Linked DNA regions of Homo sapiens: regions 1, 3, 4 and 5 are each linked to region 2. The links are contacts of gene promoters, found by promoter capture Hi-C in human tissues and cell types (Jung and others, 2019). All regions are on one chromosome and are shown on one strand. Each heading gives the region's core, a stretch centred on a gene start or on the middle of the fragment in contact. The rest is flanking DNA. Distances are from core to core; before and after follow the strand shown. Region 1 overlaps CAMK1D (calcium/calmodulin dependent protein kinase ID). Region 2 holds the start of OPTN (optineurin). Region 3 overlaps SEC61A2 (SEC61 translocon subunit alpha 2). Region 4 has its middle 56 kb from the start of CAMK1D. Region 5 has its middle 20 kb from the start of CAMK1D.

Region 1 (2,700 bases), core at 39-2,538, 660 kb after region 2:
TTTCTTTGAATGCACTTGCATTCAGAGATTTTGGAAATCCCTGCTTCAAATTGTTCTGGCTTTCTAGACCAAACCAATGTACACCTTAAATACGATATTGACTGATGTCTGCCTCTAACTTCTGTCCCTCTAAAATGTATAAAACCAAGCTGCACCCCAACCACCTTGGGCACATGTTCACAGGACGTCCTGGGGCTGTATCATAGGCCTTGGTCATTGATATTTGGCTCAGAAGAAACCTCCTTAAATATTTTACAGAGTTTGACTCTTTTCATCGACATCAGCATATACACCTCCTCAAAGCCTCAGAGGCCAAGGAAACGCAGGTTTCCATCATGGTTCTTATGCCTGACTGTCAGAGGCGTTTGAACCAGAGCAACTCCATCTTGAATAGGAGCTGGGTAAAATAAGGCTGAGACCTACTGGGCTGCATTCCCAGATGGTTAAGGCATTCCAAGTCACAGAATAAGATAGGAGATTGGCACAAAACACAGGTCATAAAGACCTTGCTGATAAACCAGGTTGCAGTAAAGAAGCCGGCTGGCCAAAACCCACCAAAACCAAGATGGCGATGACAGTGACCTCTGGTTGTCCTCACTGCTACACTCCCGCCAGCGCCATGACAGATTACAAATGCCATGGTAACGACAGGAAGTTACCCTATATGGTCTAAAAAGGGGGGGCATGAATAATCTGTCCCTTGTTTAGCATATCATCCAGAAAGAACCATAAAAATGGGAAACCAGGCTGGGCACAGTGGCTCATGCCTATAATCCCAGAACTCTGGGAGGCCAAAGTGGCTGGATCACTTGAGGTCAAAAGTTCGAGACCATCCTGGCCAACATGGTGAAACTCCGTCTCTACTGAAAATACAAAAATTAGCCGGGCATGGTGGTAGGTGCCTATAATCCCAGCTACTCAGGAGGCTGAGGCAGGAGAATCGCTTGAACCCGGGGAGCGGAGGCTGTAGTGAGCCAAGATCACTCCACTTTACTCCAGCCTGGGCAAAAGAACGAGACTCCGTCTCAAAAATAAAAAAAAAAATAAAATAAAATAGGAAACCAGCAGTCCTCAGGGCTGCTCTATGGAATAGCCATTCTTTTATTCCTTTACCTTCCGAAGAAACTTGCTTTCACTTTACTCTATAAACTCACCCTGAATTCTTTCTTGTGTGAGATCCAAGAACCCTCTCTTGGGGTCTGGATCAGGACCCCTTTCCTGTAACACGACTATACGAGCACAACACATGGTTCGTGCCTTCGTGAAGGTCATCACGACACTATATTGCAACTACAAGCTTCTATCCTTGTTTCTGTCCCCTCCTGTGTCACCGCAGAGATTCTCAGAATGGAGGCAACATAGGTTAGCCCTCTCTGTTTGACCATGGTACCTGGTGTAGAGTGAGCACCCATCATATCTGTTCCATGAATACTGAATACATTTTACAAATAGGCAAACCCCGAGAAGATCTGCCGCACATAAACGTCTTTCCTCCTCGAGTCAGTTTCACTACTGAGGCTTCACATCTTTGAATCTGTTTTCCAGAGTCCTTAGATACATGGATAAATATATTTCTGAGAGCTCAGTATTTTTGCTACTGCTGTGAGTTCATATGTAGATGGAATAAAGAAAATGGCTCAAAATTGATGGGAAACGTTAGAAAGCAAAGAAATAGTGAGAGAAGAGAAGTAGAAAAGTAAAAGAAATGAGAAGACAAGATAAAATGGGAAGAAAGCAAAGAAATTCCAGACTTTGGCCTGAAATTTGCCATCACACTGCTGTCTCTTGTCATGGTTAAATTTTGGACGTTTCCAAATATACTCACATCTAACATGCTTCTCCTTACAAATGAAACGGATGAAGTCGGTTTTCACTTTTCCTAAAATGCTCAACAATGGTTACAAGTTCCTTTCTGATCCTTTCCTTCTTAGGAAAGAAGAAAAAAACACTCGATATAAAACCTTTCAGAACCTAAACCATGATATCAGCAGGATGACTTTGGACTCAGGAAAAGTCTAGAAAGTCTTTCAAGCTGAGATGCATTTTTGAGGTTTGGGGTGACAAAAAAACTAAAAACAGTGTCTATGTATAGAAGGGCTTTGCAAGTCTATCTGAAATAAAACATTCACAGAATAAAATTCCATTTCCATATAACGTCTAAGAGAAATCAAAGTTTTTTTGTTTGCTTGTTTTTGAGACACAGCCTCTCTCTGTCACCCAGGCTGGAGTGCAGTGGCGCAATCTCAGCTCAGAGCAAGCTCTGCCTCCCGGGTTCACGCCATTCTCCTGCCTCAGCCTCCTGAGTAGGTGGGACTACAGGCACCTGCCACCACATCTGGCTAATTTTTTGTATTTTTAGTAGAGACGAGGTTTCACCATGTTAGCCAGGATGGTCTCCATCTCCTGAACTCGTGATCCGCCTGCCTTGACCTCCCAAAGTGCTGGGATTACAGGCATGAGCCACCGCGCCCGGCCTCAAAGTTTTAAGAAAAACAAGTTATTAAGAAAGACTACCTTCATAGGTCCTTGAGCCTAGAGTTAACATTTTACTGAGTTTTGGTCCATTTGAATTCTTTAATAAGACTTGAAGAATTATTACTGCTGCATTTTATACCATCAAAGAGATTGTCTTTTATAACTTGAAAAATACACATTTCCTTTTTTCCCCACATTATTGTGCAAGAAAATTTATTTTATACA
Region 2 (2,700 bases), core at 107-2,606:
CATGGCCAGAATACTTATGCGCCTCTACCTAAGTAAGGGCGGGGGTTCGGCAGGACATAATACAGTGTCCAGTTGCCCTCGAGAATAAAGTTTGGTTTTCCGGGGGTGGGTGGGGGGGTGGGGGGGTGGAGGTTAGGTTAGTTATATTCCTAGCATAATATGCAACCTAAAGGTTAGTTTATAAAAAAAGAAGCTGTTACTTTTATTGTGTTGTACGTAATATATAAAGAACGCCTAAAATTGGCCCAGTGGAAAAACAGATGAATTATGCCAGGACTTAAATCAATGATCGTCCTCTGTCTACAGGTCACATTTAAACTTGCCTTGTCCACTCCAGGGCAATCCCTGGCCTTGGGGTCTGCCCTGGGACTTCTCCAGCCCCCGCCCCAAAACTGGGCCTGTCCTGGGAGGCAGCCTGGCACCACTAACTCTTCTCTCCCTGGGTCAAAAGAGCAAGGTGGGTTCTTCTGTTCACACAGCCTGCACCTTGCTAACCAGATCCAAAGGCTTCTGAGGTCCTCACATTGCCTTACTTTTCTATGCTTTCATTTTCCATTTCATCCTTACAAACAGTTCCTTGGTGTACATTTCCATACAACAGTTTTCCTGCTGGTGGAGGCCAGGTCGGAACCTGGGTTTCATTTTCTTTGAGCGATGTTTACTTCCTGTAGCTTATGCATTTCGATGGCAAAAACAATTCCTTTGGGGTTCTCGGCCTCATCAAATATTCTCTCTATATAGAGTGTACACACTCTCCTAGACACAGCAGTCTATGTGGATTCCCACCGACCCTGGGCACCTCATTCAGCTCGGGTAGTGGTCCCATGTCTCCCACAGGCGTGTCTGTAACCACCTCCTTATGGCGAGGAACTGGCTGCGGAATCCTTCCCAGCCTGCGGGAGGACGTCACCTCCAAGTCTCTGGGTGACTTGTAGAGGGGTTACCTGCGGCCAAGAGGCCGGCCCTGGACCCTTCTTGGGCCCACCCTGTGTTCACTACCCACCCTCTCCCACCAGGTCAGGACCCGCCGAGGCTTGGGGATCCTCCCAGGGCAGCCGTCTCGCGGGAGGGCCGCCCCACCCCTCGCCACCCTCACCCCGACAGGCTCCGGGCCGCGGGGCAGGGCGGCGGGTACCGTTTTCAGGCCGCGGAAGCGCCCGCCGGGAAGGAGCCGCCGCCCCCTCGCCCACCGCTGCAGCCCCCTGCCCTGGCTCACCTGCCGCCCGGCTTGGCTTCGCTCAGGGTCACTGTTTCCTCGGCATCGTGCCGCCTGGAGAGAACTCCCGACCGGGATGGGACGCTGACCAGGGAACCTGCCGGCGGGCGGCGGCGGTGGCGGAGGGGGCAGCCGGGACTGGGGTGCCTAGGGCTGATGCGCGGCCTGGCGACCCCGCCCAGCGCGGCTCAGCTGACAGCCAGCCGCTCCCTGCCCGCGCCGGGGAATTTCCCGGGCCCCGCCCATCCCATACCCCGCCCATCCCCCCCACCCTGCCCATTCCATACCCCACCCGACCAAGGCCCCGCCCCTCCTCTTTCCTGCGTCCGCCCCCAGCTACCCACCCTCGCTGTCCGTGCGGGGTCGAGGCTGGGACCCGGGTGAACAGGGACTGCTCTAAGGCGTCACTGTGACGGCGTTAATCAAAATAAATCATTAATCAAATGCAGTGTGCGGAGTTCGTCTTCCCCGTGTCTTCCCGCAGATCCCGTAGTGGAGGCTGGAGCCGCAGGGGGTCGCTGCCGCCCACAGAAAGAGGAGAATGCCAGGCATCCTCGGAGGGAGGCCTCCATCTGTGTTTTTTGAAAAAAGGTTAACATCTAGACATAGTTAACTGAGCATACATAGCTTTCCACTCGTTTTTGCTTTAAAATACACTCAAAAAGCAGAAAGCCTGCAGGATGCTTCTTGGGCTCTTGTTGCGGACGAATAGGCTCGGCTATTCTTGTTGCTGAAGAATAGCCTCTGCTGGTGTGGAGGAGGGAAGCTGCCCCCGGATTAGACAGCAGGATGACAAGGTAGGAGCGAGAGCCGCCCTATGTGCATCCAGAGTACCCGGGTAGCGCTGCAGGGATGGGAGGGAGGGAAGGAGGGAGGGGGAGAGAGAGAGAGAGGGAGGGACGGAGAGAGGGAGAGAGGGAGGGAGAGAGGGAGGGAGGGAGAGAGGGAGAGAAAAAAAACAAAACAACAACAACAAAACCTAATCTGAAACAGGAAAAAGGCAGATGCGCCCTCTCCTGGTATCTCCGAAGGATTCTGCTTCGCTGTCTGGACCTCCTGCTGCCTGGCCAAGCCTGACTCTCAACCCTGCCCCTGAGGCTAACCCCAAGAGCAGGGCAGAGAAGCAAGCAAGTCAGCGACTGCCCCAGACCCAATTCCGGGCCCTCGAGTTGGTGTGGTGTAGGAGGGGCAGATGAGGCTAGAGGCTGCTTTATAAGGAGTGAGCCTGGGGGTGGGAGTGGGGAGAAATAGAGAATTTAAAAAAATTCTTTTTATATCAGTGCAGGAGGGCCAGGCGCGGTGGCTCACGCCTGTAATCCCAGCACTTTGGGAGGCCAAGGCAGGCAGATCGCAAGGTCCGGAGTTCGAGACCAGCCTGGCCAATATGGTGAAAGCCTGTCTCTACTAAAAATACAAAAATTAGCCGGGCATGATGGTACTCTCCTGTAGTCCCAGCTACTCGGGAGGCTAAGGCAGAAGAATCG
Region 3 (2,700 bases), core at 94-2,593, 960 kb after region 2:
AACACTATCATCAAATTTTAGTAATTTTTAAACACAGTACAACCCAAGATTGCAAAAATTTGGTTTTAGCTTGACCCTTTCCCTGCAAAAGAATTGAAAAATTAGCCAGACATGGTGGGGCACACCTGCAGTCCTACCTACTAGGGAGGCTGAGGCAGGAGCATCACCTGAGCCTAGGAGCTGGAGACCAGCCTGGGCAACATAGACCCCGTCTCTATTTAAAAACAAAAAATTGCCAGATAAAAAAGGGTGTGGTGGCTCACGCCTGTAATCCCAGCAATTTGGGAGGCTGAGGCAGGTAGATCACCTGAGGTCAGGAGTTCGAGATAAGCCTGAACAACACAGCAAAACCCCATCTCTACTAAAAATACAAAAATTCAGCTGGGCGTGGTGGCTCACGCCTATAATACCAACACTTTGGGAGGCTGAAGAAGGTGGATAGCTTGAGGTCAGGAGTTCGAGACTAGCCTGGTCAATATAGTGAAACCCCATCTCTACTAAAAATACAAAAATTAGCTGAGCTTGGTGGCATGCACCTGTAATCCCAGCTACTCGGGAGGCTGAGGCAGGAGAATCACTTGAACTGGGGAGGCAGAGGTTGCAGTGAGTCGAGATCATACCACTGCACTCCAGCCTGGGCAACAATGTGAAACTCCATCTCAAAAAATAAAATAAAACAAAAATACAAAAATTAGCTGGGCATGGTGGTAGGCACCCGTAGTCCCACAGCTACTTGGGAGCCCAAGGAAGAAGAGTCACTTGAACCCAGGAGGCAGAGGTTGCAGTGAGCTGAGATCATGCCCCTGCATCCAGCTTGGGCAACAGAGCGAGACTTTAGCTGGGCATGGTAGTAGGAACCTGTAGTCCCAGCTACTTGGGAGGCCAAGGAAGAAGAATCACTTGAACCCAGGAGGCAGAGGTTGCGGTGAGCCGAGATCATGCCCCTGCATCCAGCTTGGGCAACAGAGTGAGACTCCATCTCAAAAAAAAATTAATAATAAAAAATAAAAAGGATAATAATGCTCAATATATTGAGCTCAATGTATTCTTTATTTTAACAAAAAAAATTCTCAAATTCTAACCAATCAAAACCTTAGAACAATGGTGCAGACATTTATTTAATAGTATAGTTACATACCTGACAACACACTAAGAAAATGAAGAGCGTTATAGCAGTCCACAGAACCTTCTCTCTAAACTGGATCTGTACAACAAAATGTAAAGAATCATCAATCAAAACCAAGAAACAGCAAATTTTTGGGGGGCAGCAGAGTTTTGAGGTTATTCTTTGGGGCCTAATTCACAGAAATTGGGAATGTCCGTTATGTGTTATAAAGGAAGCATTTTTGTTTATTAGGTACAAAGTTTTACAAACATTTTTTTCTCTCTCATACATATACACACACGCACACATATATACAGACACACATGCACAGATGCTTCTTGATGACTGGATAAAGAAGATATGCTGTATATAAATAATGAAATACTTCTGAGCCATGAAAAGAATGAAACCATGTCCCTTGCAGCAACCTGGATGGAACGAACTGGAGGAGGTTATCTTAAGTGAAACAACTCAGAAGTGGAAAGTCAAACACTGTGGGCTCTCACTTAAAAGTAGGAGCTAAACAATGTGTACACATGGACATAGAATATGGAATGACAGAAGTGGAGTCTCCGAAGGGTACAGGGGTGGCAGGAAAAGATGGATGATGAGAAATTACTTAATGGGTACAATGAACGTTATCTGGGTGATGGATACACTCAAAGCCCAGACTTCACCACTACATAATACATTCATGTAACAAAACTGCATTTGTGCTACTTATATTTATACAAATTTAAAAAGAGAAATATGTTCTAAAAAATTAAGCTTATATTTTTTTAAATCTACTTTTACTGAGGAAAGAATTTTCAAATCTAGATTTTTCAGTTTCTCTTTTACTTCAAAATTTTTACCTTAAATATTTTTATTTTATTATTATTGTTTTAAATTTTACTTTAAGTTCTAGGATACATGTGCTGAACGTGCCGGTTTGTTACATAGGCAGACATATGCCATGGTGGTTTGCTGCACCTATCAACTTGTCGTCTAGGTTTTAAGCCCCGCATGCATTAGTATTTGTCCTAATGCTCTCCCTCCCCTTTCCCCCTACCCCCACAGGCCCCTGTGTGATGTTCCCCCTCCCTGTATCCACGTGTTCTCACTATTCAGCTCCCATTTACGAGTGAGAACATGTGGTGTTTGGTTTTCGAAACAGCAAATTTAAAGCACAAATCCACACAAAAACGTAACTAAAGTTCCCCATCGTGACATCCTATTATTCACTCTTAAATGCCCCTTTTTGAAGTACTATCCTAGGTAGACTTTTTTTCTTTTTTTTTTTTTTGAGACAGAGTCTCACCCTGTTGCCCAGGCTGCAGCGCAGTGGCGCAGTCTCGGCTCACTGCAACCTCTACCACCCCAGGTTCAAGCGATTCTCCTGCCTCAGCCTCCCGAGAAGCTGGGACTACAGGCGCACGCCACCACGCCCAGCTAATTTTTTTGTATTTTTAGTAGAGTCGGGGCTTCACCATGTTGGCAAGGATGGTCCCCATCTCTTGAGCACCTGCCTCAGCCTCCCAAAGTGCTGGGATTACAGGTGTGAGTCACTGTGCCGGGCCTAGATTGTTTTCTAATGTCCCTTTCACCTCAGTAGC
Region 4 (2,700 bases), core at 21-2,520, 810 kb after region 2:
AGGCGCCCACCACCACACCTGGCTAATTTTTGTATTTTTAGTGGGGTTTCACCATTTTGGCCAGGCTGGTCTCAAACTCCTGACCTCAAGTGATCCTCCTGCTGCGGCCTCCCAAAGTGCTGGGATTACAGGTGTGAGCCATCGTGACTGGCTGGTAAACAGGAATACCATGAGCCAGTTGTTATACTATTAGTAGCCTGAATCGGCCACATGTATTTACACCATGAATATCAGCAAATGATACAAATGTGGGCTTACTTTTCCCATAGAGAACTGGTTGACCAGCATGCTGTTACTGAGAAACCCCGGATTTCCATCCAGGTCCTGTTCCTTGCTGCACAGAGAGCCATTCTCTGAGATTTCAACTACTGCCAAGGAAGAAGGCTTTCACTGGGTGCTGCAACCAAGGAGGTGGGAGCTCAGTCTCAAATCCATCTCCCTGACTGACTAAAACTAGGCTTTACTACAGCAGGGAAGAAATGTAACAATGTGTAAGAAAACAGGAACCAGGGAGTGCCAAGGAGGCACCTGCTACCCTGAATCCCTGAGTTTCAGTTCTTTGATACTTTTCTTTTTTTTTTAGACTGAGTCTCGCTCTATCGCCAGGCTGGAGTGCAGTGGTGGGATCTCGGCTCACTGCAACCTCCACCTCCCGGGTTCATGCCATTCTCCTGCCTCAGCCTCCCAAGTAGCTGGGACTACAGGCGCCCGCCACCACACCCAGCTATTTTTTGTATTTTTAGTAGAGACAGGGTTTCATCATGTTGGCCAGGATGGTCTCAAACTCTTGACCTCGTGATCTGCCCACCTCGGCCTCCCAAAGTGCTGGGATTACAGGCGTGAGCCACTGCACCCAGCCGATACTATTTTTTTTTTTTTTTTTTTTTTTTTTGAGGCAGGGTCTTGCTTTGTCACCCAGGCTGGAGTGCAGTGGCGTGATCTCGGCTCACTGCAACCTCCACCTCCCAGGTTCAAGCAGTTCCCCTGCCTCAGCCTCCCAAGTAGCTGGGACTACAGGCACATGCCACCACGCCTGGCTAATATTTTCTATTTTTAGTAGAGACGGGGTTTCACCGTGTTAGCCAGGATACTCTCGATCTGACTTTGTGATCGGCCTGCCTCAGCCTCCCAAAGTGCTGGGATTACCGGTGTGAACCAAGGGGCCCGGCAGATACCTTTTTTATAGGCCCGAAAGGCTTTTCCCGAGGAAGGAACTCAAATTTAAAAAAATACAAGTTTCAAGCTTTAACAGCAGAAGGATTCATTTCTATGTTTATCCAGAAACAACTGTCTCTGGGACTCTTAGGCTGGTTTCAGTACCATGGGTGCATACTGAAGAACGATGCTGAAACCCTTGACAAGGAGAATCACACACCCTTCCCACGTGGACACCCCTCCTGTCTTCTGCTCAGTGCCACTTCAGTAATGGTCTATGTGGAAAGTTGAGTTTCCCCAGGTAGTCAGGAGCATCTTAATGCTACGAAGCCAGGCTTAATGTGGTTGACACATAGGGGTTGTTTAAACAAACAAAAAAAAAACAAACCTTCAGTTGATATATTTTTTTCATTAAGAACGATGCTTTTGGCCGGCCGCGGTGGCTCAAGCTTGTAATCGCAACACTTTGGGAGGCCAAGGCGGGTGGGTCACTTGAGGTCAGGAGTTCGAGACCAGCCTGGCCAGTATGGCGAGACCCCATCTCTACTAAAAATACAAAAAAAACTAGCCAAGCATGGTGGCGCACACCTATAATCTCATTTACTCGGGAGGCTGAGGCAGGAGAATCACCTGGAGGTAAGGGTGGCAGGAGCCAAGACTGCACCACTGCACCCTAGCCTGGGCCACAGAGTGAGACTCCATCTCAAACAAATAAACAAAAATAAATAGATAAATGCAAACAACTAGAAGAATGCACTCTTTGATTCCAATTTCTGTCAAGGTGGGAATGGCTGATACCAGATCTTTTCCTGAGGACAGGTTTGGAGAAGAAGAAGGAAGGGATAAAGAACAGGATTGTTGGGGCCTGAAGAAAGCACGGGAAGTGTGGGCAGCAAGAAATAAGACAGCTGCAGAGTTGAGAGGCCGGCATGTGAATAAAATGTGGCTGATGGTGGCTTCATTATGCCCAGATCCTATCTGATCAAGAAGCTTGTCTTTAGAGCACAAAAGGAGAAATCAACACGAATAGACACCGCAGCTCTCTGTCTTACGCCAGCATCTCCTGGGGGAAGGAGCTCTCGCTACATTCTCTCCTGGAACTGAAAACCAATTCTACTTTACTCTGTGCACATTGATCTAGTTGTCAGTGCTGTAAAAACACCAGTTTATGTCAAAACCAGAAAAACGTATCAGATAAAAGGCAAGATTAGACTAGTGCCTACTGTTGGCAAGTATTTGAGGAAAAGACACTAAAGGAAAGAATTTGGCAATTTGGAGAAGTCTTGAAACAATGCATATACTTTGGGCCAGGCACAGTGGCTCACGCTTGTAATCATAACATTTTGGGAGACCAAAGTGGGTGGATCACTTAAGGCCAGGAGTTCGACACCAGCCTGGCCAAGATGGTGAAACCCCATCTCTACTAAAGATATAAAAAAATTAGCCAGGCATGGTGGCACGTACCTGTAGTCCCAGCTATTCGGGAGGCTGAGGCAGGAGAATTGCTTGAACTTGGGAGGCAGAGGTTGCAGTGAGCCCAGATCA
Region 5 (2,700 bases), core at 118-2,617, 770 kb after region 2:
GATGCACTCCAGCTGGGCGACAGAGAGAGCCTCTGTCTCAAATAAATAATTAATTAAAGAAATAAAGGCATTTTCAACTTAACATAATTTTCAACTTACAATGGTTTGTCAGGACAGAACCCAATCATATAAGTCAGAGAGCATCTGTATTTACTTTGCCAGGTTGTTTTAAGAACATTAGACAGTGAGTGACTGTAAAATACCTAAACCAAAGGCAGTCAATAAATAGTAGCTACTGTTGTTGTCAGGAATTTTCACTTGAAAAACAAGATGACTTGATCAGTTTTATTTGAGCATGAAATAAAAGCATACTTCGGTTACTCAGTTGTTCTGATTATAAAATTATGGTAATTCTTGGCCAGGCATGGTGGCTCACACCTGTAATTCCAGCACTGTGGGAGATCAAGGTGGGAGGATTGCTTGAGGCCAAGAGTGATACCAGCCTGGGCAATGTGACAAAACCCCATCTCTACCAAAAATACAAAAAAATAACTGAGCATGATGGTATGTGCCTTGGTCCCAGCTACTGGGGAGGCTGATGTGGGAGGATTGCTTGAGCCTGGGAGGTCAAGGCTGCAGTGAGCCATCATGGTGCCACTGCACTCCTGCCTGGGTGACAGAGTGAGACCCCCATCTCAAAAAGAAAAAAAAAATTATGGTAATTCTTTATCTAAAAAGCTGCAGAAGAATACAGAATGAGTCAGTCAGCACCCCAGCTTCTATGGCTTAAGGTAAATCACCTTACCATTTCTAAATCACTCCTTGGTTAAAAAAAAAAAAAAAAATGTACCAGTGGCAATGTTTGCTAGAGCATTTATTAAAATAATTTTGGTCAAAGGAAATACCAAAGTTTATCATTAAGATTCCACAGTGACTCTGAATTCCATTTTGAACATCCTTCTTTGATCTCCTTTGGAAATAGCCTGAGTTTTTCCCTTGGGAGGCAAAGGAATCAATTTTTGTTAATCTTGTTTATACTATAGAGGATGCCAAATTTCAAGCACCGAAAGATACTTCTGAAATGGGCCTGAACACAGTGTCAAGGTTTGACAATAGACACATTTCACCATTTTCACTGACGTCAGCTGACAAAGAAGCTGGCATTATCTCTAATAGCCCAAAACTGGAAACAGCCCAAGTGCCCAAACAGTCAAGACTGTTTCCATAAAGAAATGGAATATCAGCCTTTCACTGAAGATAAAGATCCTGTTCAAAATCATATCAAGGGGCCGAACGCGGTGGTTCTCGCCTGTAACCCCAGCACTTTGGGAGGCCTAGGCAGGCGGATCACCTGAGGTCAGGAGTTCAAGACCAGCCTGGCCAACATGGCAAAACCTCGTCTCTACTAAAATATACAAAAATTAGCCGGGTGTGGTGGCACATGCCTGTAATTCCAGCTAATCAGGAGGCAGAGGCGGGAGAATTGCTTGAACCTGGGAGGTGGAGGTTGCAGTGAGCCGAAATTGTGCAACTGCATTCCAACCTGGGTGGCAGAGCAAGACTCTGTCTCAAAAAAAAAATCATATCAAGTAAAAAATTAAAATGAAGTAAGAATGATTGTATTAATCTAACAACCAGGTTTAGAAACTAACAAAGGGAAACAGGATCTTCTGCACAGTAGATGCTGATATGAAGATTTGATCTTGATCCCCAAGAGTGCAGTTTTCTGATATGGTTTTATCTTTAAATACATGTTGGGATTTTTTTGTTTTGTTTTTTGTTTTTGGGGTTTTTTTTTTTTTTAGCTGTATCTGCCAAGCCTTGGGGCATCACCATTCTGGAACCACCTTAGTCCAAGTTCAAAGCTTGGTTTAAAAAAAAAAGTTTCAGCCGTGCACAGTGGCTCACGCCTGTAATCCCAGCACTTTGGGAGGCCAAGGTGGGCGGATCACGAGGTCAGGAGATGGAGACCATCCTGGCTAACACGGTGAAACCCCACCTCTACTAAAAATACAAAAAACAGCCGGGCTTGGTGGTGGGCGCCTGTAGTCCCAGCTACTCAGGAGACTGAGGCAGGAGAATGGCGTGAACCCGGGAGACCGAGCTTGCAGAGAACCGAGATAGCACCACTGCACTCCAGCCTGGGTGACAGTGCAAACTCTGTCTCAAAAAAAAAAAGTTTCAGACCGGGCACAGTGACTCATACCTGTAATCCCAGCACTTTGGGAGGCCAAGATGGGTGGATCACCTGAGGTCAGGAGTTTGAGACCAGCCTGGGCAACATGGCGAAGCCCCATCTCTACTAAAATATAAAAAATCAGCTGGGTGTGGTGACGCTCACCTGTAATCCCAGCTGCTCAGGAGGCTGAGGCAGGAGAATCACTTGGAGCAGGGAGGTGGAGGTTGCAGTGAGCTGAGATGGCACCAGTGCACTCCAGCCTGGGGACAGAGTGAGTCTCAAAAAAAAAAAAAATGTTTCAGAGACAAAATCTTGCTGTCACCCAGGCTGGAGTGTAGTGGTGCCATCACAGCTCACTGTAGCCTTGAACTCCTGGGCTCAAGGGATCCACCTGCCTCAGCCTTCTGAGTAGCTGGGGCTACTGGTGCATGCCACCATGCCCAGTTAATTTTTTTAAAATTATTTTTGTAGAGATGGGGGTCTCACTATGTTGCCCAGGCTTGTCTCAGACTCCTGGCCTCAAGTGATCCTACAACAGCCTCCCAGAATGCTTGGAATACAGGCATGAGCGCCTGTACCCA

The links. The method cuts DNA at HindIII sites, captures the fragments that hold promoters and counts their contacts. A contact is called where the count stands out against the background at its distance.
Region 1: a contact is called between a fragment that was not itself captured here and the fragment with the promoter of OPTN in region 2, in 1 of the 25 tissues and cell types used here (mesendoderm cells).
Region 3: a fragment that was not itself captured here is called in contact with the fragment with the promoter of OPTN in region 2 in 1 of the 25 tissues and cell types used here (heart left ventricle).
Region 4: a fragment that was not itself captured here is called in contact with the fragment with the promoter of OPTN in region 2 in 2 of the 25 tissues and cell types used here (dorsolateral prefrontal cortex and mesenchymal stem cells).
Region 5: a contact is called between a fragment that was not itself captured here and the fragment with the promoter of OPTN in region 2, in 2 of the 25 tissues and cell types used here (dorsolateral prefrontal cortex and mesenchymal stem cells).

What each region holds. Positions count from the first base shown.
Region 1 is chr10:12,441,975-12,444,674 of GRCh38, reverse strand. The region is part of intron 1 of CAMK1D (calcium/calmodulin dependent protein kinase ID); the gene reads right to left. Among named protein-coding and RNA genes, the nearest start is that of CAMK1D, 94 kb to the right of the region's middle. The HindIII fragment of the contact is 6,305 bases long and covers 1-2,700 here.
Region 2 is chr10:13,098,819-13,101,518 of GRCh38, reverse strand. It overlaps OPTN (optineurin), which reads right to left and starts at 1,356. Exons shown (of 15, transcript NM_001008212.2): 1 at 1,217-1,356. It also overlaps a transcript of CCDC3 not described here. RefSeq lists an enhancer at 571-700 and silencers at 981-1,550, 2,021-2,080. The HindIII fragment of the contact is 16,289 bases long and covers 1-2,700 here.
Region 3 is chr10:12,134,609-12,137,308 of GRCh38, reverse strand. SEC61A2 (SEC61 translocon subunit alpha 2) reads right to left here. Exons shown (of 12, transcript NM_018144.4): 3 at 1,139-1,204. Among named protein-coding and RNA genes, the nearest start is that of MIR548AK, 5.1 kb to the right of the region's middle. The HindIII fragment of the contact is 9,956 bases long and covers 1-2,700 here.
Region 4 is chr10:12,292,400-12,295,099 of GRCh38, reverse strand. No RefSeq gene overlaps it. Among named protein-coding and RNA genes, the nearest start is that of CAMK1D, 56 kb to the left of the region's middle. The HindIII fragment of the contact is 5,976 bases long and covers 1-2,700 here.
Region 5 is chr10:12,327,950-12,330,649 of GRCh38, reverse strand. It overlaps the pseudogene RN7SL198P. Among named protein-coding and RNA genes, the nearest start is that of CAMK1D, 20 kb to the left of the region's middle. The HindIII fragment of the contact is 7,709 bases long and covers 1-2,700 here.